Regions from separate parts of the Homo sapiens genome. Here region 2 is linked to region 1. The links are contacts of gene promoters, found by promoter capture Hi-C in blood cells and fetal thymus (Javierre and others, 2016). All regions are on one chromosome and are shown on one strand. Each heading gives the region's core, a stretch centred on a gene start or on the middle of the fragment in contact. The rest is flanking DNA. Distances are from core to core; before and after follow the strand shown.

What was found. Contacts are between HindIII fragments. The CHiCAGO score rates a contact against its expected background, and 5 or more counts as called.
Region 2: a fragment that was not itself captured here is called in contact with the fragment with the promoter of NCAPH in region 1 in 2 of 17 cell types (total CD8 T cells and activated CD4 T cells); the score reaches 7.0 in total CD8 T cells.

Annotation. Positions count from the first base shown.
Region 1 is chr2:96,333,323-96,339,021 of GRCh38, reverse strand. NCAPH (non-SMC condensin I complex subunit H) reads right to left here and starts at 3,256. Exons shown (of 18, transcript NM_015341.5): 1 at 3,174-3,256. The coding sequence starts at 3,192. RefSeq lists enhancers at 2,100-2,941, 2,942-3,783 and a silencer at 2,862-3,181. The HindIII fragment of the contact is 5,174 bases long and covers 2,474-5,699 here.
Region 2 is chr2:96,908,603-96,914,301 of GRCh38, reverse strand. The region is part of intron 12 of FAM178B (family with sequence similarity 178 member B); the gene reads left to right. Among named protein-coding and RNA genes, the nearest start is that of SEMA4C, 41 kb to the right of the region's middle. RefSeq lists an enhancer at 379-1,066. The HindIII fragment of the contact is 1,581 bases long and covers 1,336-2,916 here.

The DNA of each region.
Region 1 (5,699 bases), core at 2,007-4,506:
GGCCAACACGGTGAAACCCCACCTCTACTAAAAATACAAAAAAATGAGCCGGGCGCAGTGGCGGGTGCCTGTAGTCCCAGCTACTTGGGAGGCTGAGACAGAAGAATGGCATGAACCCAAGAGGTGGAGCTTGCTGTGAGTCGAGATCGCGCCACTGCACTACAGCCTGGGTGACAAAGTGAGACTCCGTCTCAAAAAACAAAAACAAAAACAAAAAAACCCCCACACGTTTATGTGTTCTCTTGCAGCTGTGGAGGGTTACATTCATTCTGGAGGCTTTGAGAGGAGGATCTGTTCCTCGCCTTTTGCAGCTTCAGAGCTGCCTACATTCCTTGGCTCACTGTCCCCCCATCACTCTAACCTCTTGTTCTGTCATCACATCTGCTCTCACTCTACCCCGACGACCTTCCTCTTACAAGGACCACTGTGATTAAACTGGGCCCACCCAGATGATCCATGATAGTCTTCTCAACAGCCTTAACTTAATCACATGAGCAAAGTCTCTTTCACCACGTAAGATAACATATTCACAGGTTCTGGACACCTTTAGGGCAAGTGTTATTCAGCCTATCACAGTGACCATCCAAAATAAAAGGTAAAATTTGCTGAACAATGTACTCAAGCAGGCAAAGAGGTTGCCTTTGTAGAGAGCACAGAAAGCCCATCCTCAGTAACAGGAGAAAAGACAGAGGCACTGGCACAGATGCAGGCAGGGAGCAGGTGCAATGGCAGACTTGGGGATGTTCCTTTTTGTTTGCTTTTTTTTTTTTTTTTTTTTTTCAATAAAATAGGAAGTAAAAACAAGGCTGGGCTCATGCCTGTAATCCTAGCACTTTGGAGGCCAAGGTGGGAGGATCACTTGAGGTCAGGAGTTCGAGACCAGCCTGGCCAACAAGGCAAAATCCCGTCTCTACTAAAAATACAAAAATTAGCAAGGTGTAGTGGCGCATGTCTGTAATCCCAGCTACTCGGTAGGCTGAGGCAGGAGAATTGCTTGAGCCTGGGAGGCAGAGGTTGCAGTGAGCCAAGATCAAGCCACTGCACTCCAGCCTGGGGGACAGAGCAAGACTCTGTCTCAGAAAAAAAAAAAGGGTTGTTGGAGTCAGGGAACCAGAGAGTGAATTAGAAAGATATAGGTGGTATTGAGAAGTGGGGTACTTTGCCAGGCATCTGTGGTTCCAGCTACTCAGGAAGCTGAGCCTGCTTGCGCTCAGCAAGGCTGCCGTGAGCTAGGACAGCACCTGTCAATAGCCACGCACTCCAGCCTGGGCAACACAGCAAGACCCTGTCTCTAAAAAATAATAGGCCGGGCGCGGTGGCTCATGCCTGTAATCCCAGCACTTTGGGAGGCTGAGGCGGGCAGATCACAAGGTCAGGAGATCGAGACCACCCTGACTAACACGGTGAAACCCCGTTCCTACTAAAATACAAAAAATTAGCTGGGCGTGGTGGCAGGAGCCTGTAGTCCCAGCTACTCGGGAGGCTGAGGCAGGAGAATAGCGTGAACCCAGGAGGCGGAGCTTGCAGTGGGCCGAGATTGCACCACTGCACTCCAGCCTGGGCGATAGAGCGAGACTCCGTCTCAAAAAAAACAAAAAACAAAAAACAACAAAGTAAAAATAGGAAGGGAGGAGGCAAGAGACATTTTTAGAAACTGAATCAAGAGGACTTATGAGGACAGTATTTGGATGTGAGCACAGTAGGCTACAGGCTAAGGAAGGAACCTGGACCTTTGGAGAGGATACCTTAACAGAAATAGGAAGCACTTAAGGAGAACCTTGTCTAAGAGAGAAACTAAACTTGGAATTAGAGGCATGCTTTAATTCTCCAAATCTTCTTTCCGTGGTTTCTCTCCTTGCCTTTGATATTATGCATCCATTCATTCAACCGATGGTTACTGAGCTCAAAGACACTTCCTATGTCTACTTCCTCATTTCCCACTCATTTTTCAACCCACTCTGGTCTGGTTCCTATTCCAACTTCATGAGAACTATCTTTTCGTGATCATCTATAACTTCCATGTTGCCTAAACCCTATGGTCATTTTCTGGCCTTTCTCTTGGAATCCAGCAGCATTTGAAACAGCTGACAGTCCCTTCCTTGTTGAAACACTCTTGGCTTCTTCCTATACCACTGTCTTTTGAGTTTTTCCAGCTCATCCTTCTCTATCCAGCTTCTAAACGTTGGTCCTAGATGTGCAGGGCCTTCCTAGTGTTCTCACCTGTTCCCATGGTTTTATGGTCTAATGGTCTATATGATAATGGTATCCAAATTTATTTCTCAATCCATGGGTCACTTCCCTGAGTGGTCCATATAACTCCCCTGAGAGCCAAATTCTCACCTAAGTGATTATAGATCCCTTCACCTGAGTCTCTCCCGTAAGTCACACATACCATGTCCAAAATGTAACTCAATTTCCAAATCTCTTACCCAAGGCCTCCAGACCCTGCCTACGTGTCAGGCCTCACTAAGCTTGGTCACAATGTTCTGGTCAGGTCCTAGGCCAGGCCAGGCTCTTCCCTGCCTCATTTTTGTACTTGCTCCTTCTGCCTGAAACACGTTCCCTAGTATCTGCCTAAAGATCTTCCCTGAACCCCTGGCGGAGCCACCCCTACTCTGCTATACTCAATCACAGCACTCAGCCTCATGTGTAATTATTTCTTTTGTTTACTGTCTGTCTCCCCAACTCCAACAGTATAGAGATATTATCAATTTTGTTCGCCCAACGGGAGAGCTCAGTACTTTTGAATAGATGCAAAAATAAATGCATGCATGCTAAGCATACAACGGTAACCACATCGCTTCCAAAGCCCTGAAAATAACGTCTATTCCAGGAAAACCACCATTTTAATGGAGAGACACCGAGCACGCTTTAGGAGCCCAAGGAGGAGGCCGCCCCACCGCCCGCCCGGGAACTGAGGAGTGTGAGGCAGGGCCCGCGCGCTCTCCGACTCCGGCCGAAGCCGCTTTCTGATTGGCTGAGCGCACAAGGTCCGCCCGCCCCGCGCCGGCCCTCCCCTCCCCCCGCACCGGCCTCTGCTGTCAGCCGCAGGGCCAAGACCCGAGCTGAGCATATCCTCTCTCCCCGCCCAGGCCAGCCCGCCAGCCCTGCCCGCCCGAAGTACTGCTTCGCTAGGGGCCCTTCCCGCCGCGCCTCCCGACCGCCCGGCTCACCTGGGCCGGGAGGTCCCATCTTTCCTTGGCGTCTCCTGAGCTGGTTTTAAATCGCGCGCGTCGAGACGCCTGAGCGCCGTAACGGCCGCGTGACGTCGCCGGCGGGCCGGGCCAGCAGCGCGCCTGCGCAGACCACCTCGGGCCTCCGCGGGCGGCGTCAGAGTGAGTTTTGGGTTGAGGACCCCGTCTGATTGGGCTTCTTGGGGTCGGTGGACCCCCTGAAATAGTATGAAAACCCCCTCCTTCGAGGACTAGGTGCAGGACTGGGCTTGGGAACCCAGCGTCGAGCAGGGTGAGCAAGGCCCGTCTTTCGTGGAATTTACTTTCTTTTTTTTTTTTTTTTGGGACGAAGTCTAGCTCTTGTCCCCCAGACTGGAGTGCAGTGGCGCGATCTTGGCTCACTGCAACCTCCGCCTCCTGGGTTAAAGCGATTCTCCTGCCTCAGCCTCCCGAGTAGCTGGGATTACAGGCGCCTGCCACCACGCCTGGCCAATTTTTGTGTTTTTAGTAGAGACGGGGTTTCACCATGTTGGCCAGGCTGGTCTCGAACTCCTGACCTCAGGTGATCCGCCCACCTCGGCCTCCCGAAGTGCTGGGATTACAGGCGTGAGCCACCGCGCTCAGCCCGTGGAATTTACTTTATAATGGGGAGGCAGATGATCGAGAAAACGAGGTTTATTTCCCTTAGAGATCTGTGCTGTGTGGGCAGCAAAACGCTGAAAACCTCCGGGAAGAGGGACGGAGGGGAGCGGGAGCCTACGTGGGAATGAGGAGCGGTCCAGGTGGGGAAGAACTGATGCAGAAATGCTATGTATACATTAAATATAGTACAAAATGTACATTTAATATAGTGTAAGATGAAGGCCATCGTTTTATTCAGATTCTTGTGAATAGCTTCCTGTGAACACCCCCCACCCTTCAAAAAATAAATAAAGGTCGAAAAAGCGAAATAAGCATAAAATGCCATCTGTCCCCTCAGTTTCATCTAACCCTAAGGATTGAATTATGGGAGTAAAGGCCAGGGTGATTCCCTGGAATATCCCCAGCACATCCTAGAATTTCTTGTAACTCTCATATCTGGCATCTTTTACAGTGTTTCTCTTCAAGGGCACTGTTGGCATTCAGGGTGAAACAATCCTTGGCATGATAGGATGTTTGCCCTCTTTGTGGGCTCTTAAGCCCCCGTAACATCATTTGCCCACTAAATGCCATCAGTGCTGTCGCTCATTTTGGCAATCAAAAAGTGCCACCCTTTGTTGAAAACCACTTTTTTTTTTTTTTTTTTTGAGACAGAGTCTTGCTTTGTTGCCCAGGCTGGAGTGCAATGGCACGATCTCAGCTCACTGCAACCTCCACCTCCCAAGTTCAAGCGATTCTCCTGCCTCAGCCTCCTGAATAGCTGGGATTACAGGCGCCCACCACCACACCCAGCTAATTTTTGTATTTTTAGTAGAGATGGGGTTTCACCATGTTGGTCAGGCTGGTCTCGAACTCCTGACCTCAGGTGATCCACCCGCCTTGGCCTCTCAAAGTGTTAGGATTATAGGCATGAGCCACTGCGCCTGGCTGAAAACCACTTTTTAAGCCTATCTGTTGTTCGTATAAACTTGTTCTTCTAGTGACCACCTTCAAATCTTCAGCGTAAGGCTGTGTGGGTTAGAGAAAACAGGTTGACACTGTTTATCTCAGCAAATGATACCATCAGCCACCCAAGAACCCAAATCAGCACCCAGGAGTCATCCTGGGGGATTCCCTCCCTTTCTCTCCCCACACAATCCATCATCAAGCAAGCTATTTTCACCTCCTAAAAATTGCCAATCCTGCCTTTCTCCTTCCATCCACATTACCTTCTCACTGGCCTGCTCTGGCCCCCCCTCAGGCCCTGAGTAGTGTATGCGGAGTCCAAATCTGAGCTGTCACTCCCACTTGTCCCCCACCACTTCCTCCCGGAAGTATAACACTTCAGGGGTTCCACCACCCTGGGAACCTCTAAGCGTCCTACAAGGTCCTGGAAGGGTCTTCCTGCCAGCCTCCCCACCCCTGCAGCCTCTCCAGCCTCCTCAGGGACCTTGCTCCCCTTGCTCCCTGCCCTCCAGCTGCCCTGGCCTTTTTTCAGATTCCTCTCATCACACCTGCTCCTACCCCCAGGCCTCTGCACACACACACTCCTCTAGCTAGGATCCTCTTCATCCCCATCTTCACCCCCGTAGCTCCAGTTAGGTTTCTACTCCCCTCAGGTTCCTCAAGGAGACCTTCCCTGATACACACAACTCTCCATACTGGAGGCTTCAGGAGAACTTGTCACAGCTGCAATTTTCCATGCACTAGGGTGACTATTTCATGTCTGTCTCCTACATAGACCGTCAGCTCCATGAGGATGAAGCCATATCTGTTCACTATGGTTTTCCCATGGCCTGGTGCTGGCCCTGGACATAGCAAGTACTTAAATATGTATTCAATGAGTACATCTGGAAGACAATTTTAAATCCTGGGTTGGGCATGTTAACCTCTCTGGGCCCCATTTTC
Region 2 (5,699 bases), core at 877-3,376, 580 kb before region 1:
TGCTCACATGTCACTGCCTCAGAGAGGTTTCACCTGATCCTTTTTTCCAAATGAGCTGCCACCTCAGGGCTCTGCACAACCTCCCTTTCCTTCATTTTTCTCCACGGACTACCAGGACCAGAAGTGAACTATGACCAGCCCTCCCCATGAGTATGAGCTCCCTGGGCGGGAGGGCCCCGTCCATCTCCCCCATGTCTGCATCCTCAGCACCCAGAACAGAGCGTGGACTAGAATATCACGGGTGCTGAGTAAATATTTGGCAAATAAGTAAAAGCCAACAATGTTTGGCTCTCTTCTGATCTCTTCCTGTGATGGAAATACATTGAGGTTTGCGGGGGGTGTGGGCTTCCTTCCTGTGTTGAGGAGGCGTCTTCCTCGCACCCTCCTCTGCACAGAAGCCGGGAGTCAGGCACTCCTTTGTTCCACCTCTGGGAGCGAGACCCAGGCCTAACCACTTGGATGCTCCTGAGGAAAGGACTCAGGGACGGCAGTCCTCACAGGCTTTTCTGGCCAGGGACCCTGCTGCTCCACACCCCTTGGCCAGGTTCTCCATCTTCCTGTGAATTCTGGAGCACCCCAGGATCCTCTCAGTGTTCTTATGTCTGGAGCAGCCAGCCAAGCAGGTTCTGTGTGGCCACCAAGGAGGAACTGACTGATGGAGCGGAAGTGCAGACAGGCTAGGGAGAGAGCAGCCTCACGCTCGTCAGGTCCTTGCGCACTGGGGATAAGAGCTGGGACAGGCGCAGATGCACCGTGGCTTCCCTCGAAACCCTCGTTTCCCTCCCATTTTGTTCACTTCCTCACTGTGGGGCCAGAGGGCCCCACCTTTCCTTCTCCCCTTACCACTGCCCGGCCCTGGGTCAGCTCCTGGACCCCTTCTCCACTGTGGACTCCCTGCCTGCCTGTTCTCAGACTTGAAACTGCACGGCCAAACAGTGATGCCACATGCATGTCCCTTGTCCCCACCTTGGCTCTTGACCCCTTCAGGCTGCCCGGAGCCACAGCGAGTTCCTGGCCAGCCTCCTGGGGACCTTAGCAGACTCCATGCTTCCTGCTGCTGAAGCCTCTGCACTCCCAGCGAACAGCCACCCCCACTAGACAAACGCAGTGCTCTCAGTTCTCACCTCCCTGCTGCCCACTGCACCCTTAATTCTGGATCCTGGCAGTCCTGCCTCTCCCAAAACCTTCTGCAGTCATCCCTTATTCTTGTACCGTTTGCTTTTTGTTCACTAGCTTTCTCTGCAGCAAATAAATGCGTTCCTGCGTCTCCTACCTTAAAACAGCCGTTCTGTCTCCACCCACATCTCCCTCGAGCTCCTGCCGCAGCTCCAAGCTTCCTCCCCCAGTTCTCTTTCACTCATGGCTGAATCCTGCCCACCCTCGGGCAGGTTGGATTCTTCGGAGCTCAGAGTGTCACAGAGAGCTCTCACTGTGGGCGGGTGAGGCCAGAAGGTCTGGAAGGAGGCAGTCAAGGCCCAGTCAACCTGGAGATTTCAGAAGGGCACCAAACCTGGAGGAAGGAACAAGAGGCAAGATGAAGGTCGCATCCGGAGCCTGGGCTGGAGCTGGGAGGCAGACAGCAGCGTGAAGGTGGGCGGCGGTCAGGCCATGATCGCCAGGAGGGGGACATGGCTGGAGAGGACGCGGCTCCCTCTCAGGTGGGATGTCTGAAGGACCTAAAGGGCCAGGAGCTGAGGAGACACCTCTTGGGGCACCAGGCACTCCAGCCAAGCTGCTCCGTCACCAGGGACCTCTCGGGCTCTTCCTGATGAGCAACCAGCACTTCCTTCCCTGGGCTTCCCAGGGCCCTCCTGGCTTCCTCAGCTGCCCTCAGGGATACCCCTCCCCCACCAGCCCTCGAGTCTTGGTGGGCCTCAGGATTCCACCCTAGCCCTTACTGTGACACAGGCCCATGAAGTCGGGGGTGCTAGGTGCCCCCCACTTGCCCCGATCCAGGACTGGGGCACTCTTTCCACTGCTGGGGGTGGCAGAGGAGTCACCTCTGCCAAAGGTGGTCACCTTACCAGGGCTGGGCCCCTTCCTTGGCAGCAGCCCAGTGCTGAGACACAAAGATCTTCCCCGTTGCCTTAGTTGAGGATGTCTCCGAAGGACCCTGCTGGCTCCGGAGTCCTTGTGGGGTCAGCTGAGGCCTTCACTGGCTGCGTGGCAGCCTGGTTTCCTTTGTCTCTCCCCGCATAAATTCCCTGCATCCTCTCTCCCTACGTAAATTCCCTGCTTGCTAATATCCATTTCAGAGCCTACTTTCTGGGGAAGCCAGCCTGAGACACCATCTCATCTGCACCCGAGGCCTCAGCTCCAGGCACATGCTAGCAGCTCCCAAATGAATACCTGTGGCCAGACTTTGCTGCTGAGCACCTATCTGTGTGGCACATGTCTGGGATTCAGCATGTGGGAAGCAGGAGTCACCGCCTTCCCAGGAGGACCCCTTCCCTGTCTTCCATGGCTCCATGAGTGGCACCAGTGTCTGCCCACTGCCCAGGCCTGGAGTCCTATGGACAGATTCGGTGCCCTGGAGCTCCCCAATCTCCCACAGTGCTCATTCCTCCTCACCCTCCCTGTCGCTGCCTTGGTGCAGCTCTTCCTGCAACCCCCTTGGATTTCCGCCAGAGCATCCCACTGTCTCTTTCCAGGCTTTCTCCACCAGCTCCACCTTGTGCTGTCCCGGAGTGTGACCGTCCTTCAGATGCTCATGTGTTCGCATTGCTGATGTGCATAAAATCTTTCAGACTTTCCCCCTCAGGGTGAAATGCCACGGTGCAGCCTGGGGTTGGAGGGCATTGGTGCCCCCTTTCCCAGGCTCACATGCCACCCTGCTCCCTGCAGGCTTCCACGCTTTTGCCGCGTCCTAGAACTTGGCAGCCACCCCAACTCAAGATGATCATTTGCCTCCAAGCTTTTCCGCATCTGTCTCCTCCTGGAGAGGCCTCTTCCCATTGTCCTCCTCTGCCTGGTTCACATCTCTTCAGCCTCAAGACGAGGCTCCGGCCAAGGCATCTCCTCTTCGAGCAGCCCTTGTTGCAGGCCCATCAGGCTGTCCCCCTCACTGACGCGGGCCGTGAGCATCAGAGGGACAGGTGCTGTGGCCGTACTCCCTGAGTCCACAGAGCCTGGCATGGCAGGGGGACTCACTCAGCACACTCGTGCTTTGTCTGCTTCTGGAGGGTAGATTTCAAAGAAGCATAAAGAGGTAGAACTTAAAAAAAAAGATTCTAGGGCCAGGCACGGTGGCTCACACCTGTAATCCCAGCACTTTGGGAGGCTGAGGCAGGTGGATCACTTGAGGTCAAGAGTTCAAGACCAGCCTGGCCAACATGGTGAAACCCCGGGTCTACTAAAAATACAAAAATTAGCCGGGCATTGTGGTGTGCACCTGTAGTCCCAGCTACTCAGGAGGCTGAGGTTGTTGTAGTGAGCCAAGATCACGCCACTGCACTCCAGCCTGGGCGACAGAGCAAGACTGTCTCAAAAAAAAAAAAAAAAAAATTAAGAAGAGAGATGTCTCAGGTGGGCTGGGAGATCTTGCACTGAAGCTTTGAATATGGATTACAAAGGAGCCCAGTGAGGAAAAGAAGGGAAGCATTAAAGGCTGCAGGGGCTCCCCTCAGAGCTTGTTCGTGGTCTCAGGTTTGGAAAGAAGGGCACCAAAGTAAGGTAGCCGGACAAACGGCGTGGACCAGCGGGAGTGTTGTTGGGAAATGCCGAAGGCCATAAAAGGAGTTTCTGTGTAGTTACTTTTGAAGCAAGGAGTGCGGTTTGGGGCTGACAGTAAAACGTTAGCCCTGATGCAGACGGAACAACACTACACAATTCGTATTTTGCTTTTGCCGTCTTTGTCAAGGAGAACAGTTTTTCATTTGGAATCAAATATTGGTCGTCGAAGGGGGTTAAAGCCTAAGAGAGTGTGGGAGGCTGCATGACCAACCTCACTGTGCAGAGGAGGCCGTCTCCCCGGTGGGACGGCGTCTCACTGCTCCTGGGAGACATGAAGTTGGGGCCGTGGCTCCATGGGGACTTTTGGAGGCGGAGGGCTTCCAGGAGATGGGGGCAATGGTGCTTGATGTGCTCCTCCAGGTTATTCTCTAGGGGATTCCGGCTTGGGAGCACATACGTAGAAAAGGAAACACTGCTTTCTAGGAGTCCTAACAAGAAATCATACCAGGCAAGCCTCACTTTTCCACAGGTCAACCAGAATCATACTCCAGAGAGGACTGTGCAGTGCCTGTATGTAGGTTTCCTGGGCATTTGGTAGAGGCTGTCACCATAGGCTGGGTTCGGCATGAAGGAATGCGGGTCAAATGATGACAGAATGAAGTGGGCTCATTATCAAAAGGTGCTGCTGGCCATCAGAGTGTGCCCAGAGGGCAGGCCCTGTCACCACCCCGAGTTCTGTCTCCACTCACAGGTTGGCCAGGGCAGGCCCAGTGTTTTGGATGAGGCTATTAATGGAACAATGGTCAGATTCACAGATGACATGAATACAACTGACAGCAGACCGAAGATCCCAGAAGATCTCAACAGACTGTAATGATGGACTGAGTTGAAAAGGGAGGCCCAGCTGCACAATTAAGAACAGGATCTGGGAAATGGGATTTGACAGCAAGACGTGTGAAAAAAAAAGACTTTGGGCTCAATCTGTTAACTGCGTTGTGTTGTGGGGCTGCCAAGAAAATGAGCATCAGCCTCAACTCCGAGTGTCGCACTTGAAAGGGAACATTGACAACCCCCAGGGCCGTCAGAGGACCCAAACCAAAATGGCAAAAAAAGATACAAAAAGATGGGAATGAGGGGGCTGTGGCACCTGCAGGAAGGGGCAGCCACGGGAATGTGGCAACTTCTTCCAAGCGTAGAGGACCTAGGTTGGCGGAGAGCTCCCTCCTGGAGGCCCCAGAGGACAGGATCCAGAAGCTTTGAGTGGAAGTCCCAGAAGGGCAGGTTTTGGCAAAATATGGGAACGATTTCCTTTGGTTAGTCCGGTAAATGAATTTGGGCTGTCTTGGCAGATACTGCACTTCCTTTGCTGAAGTGAACACTTATTGGGGGTGTGGCAAAGAGAATTAAAATGGATAACTATGCAGAAGCTAGATTAGGTGACTTCAAGGTGTTTTCTTTTTTCTTTTTTCTTTTTTTTTTTTTTTTTTGAGACAGAGTCTTGATCTGTCGCCCAGGCTGGAGGGCGGTGGCGTGATGTCGGCTCACTGCAACCTCTGCCTCCCAGGTTCAAGTGATTCTCCTGCCTCAGCCTCCCAAGTAGCAGGCATTACAGGTACCTGTCACCACACCCGGCTAATTTTTGTATTTTTAGTAGAGACGGGGTTTCACCATGTTGGCCAGACTGGTCTCGAACTGACCTCAGGTGATCCTCCCACCTCAGCCTCCCAAAGTGCTGGGGTTACAGGCGAGAGCCACTGCGCCCAGCAGACTTCAAGGTGTTTTCTAAGCCTGAGGTTCTGTGATTTTTATCATACAAAGAGGGAGATGAGAATGGAAGTTGGTATGATTGTTCATGTGTACCTTTTAATTTACTTATAATACGTGTGAATGGAAGGACCCATATCATAGGTGGACACTTCGTGCCCTTTGCAAAAGAGATCATCCATGTACCACCTGACCATGGGACAGAATGTCTGCCGCTCCCCAGAAGCCCCATCAGGCCCCTGCCAGGCGTTCCCTCCTGCAGA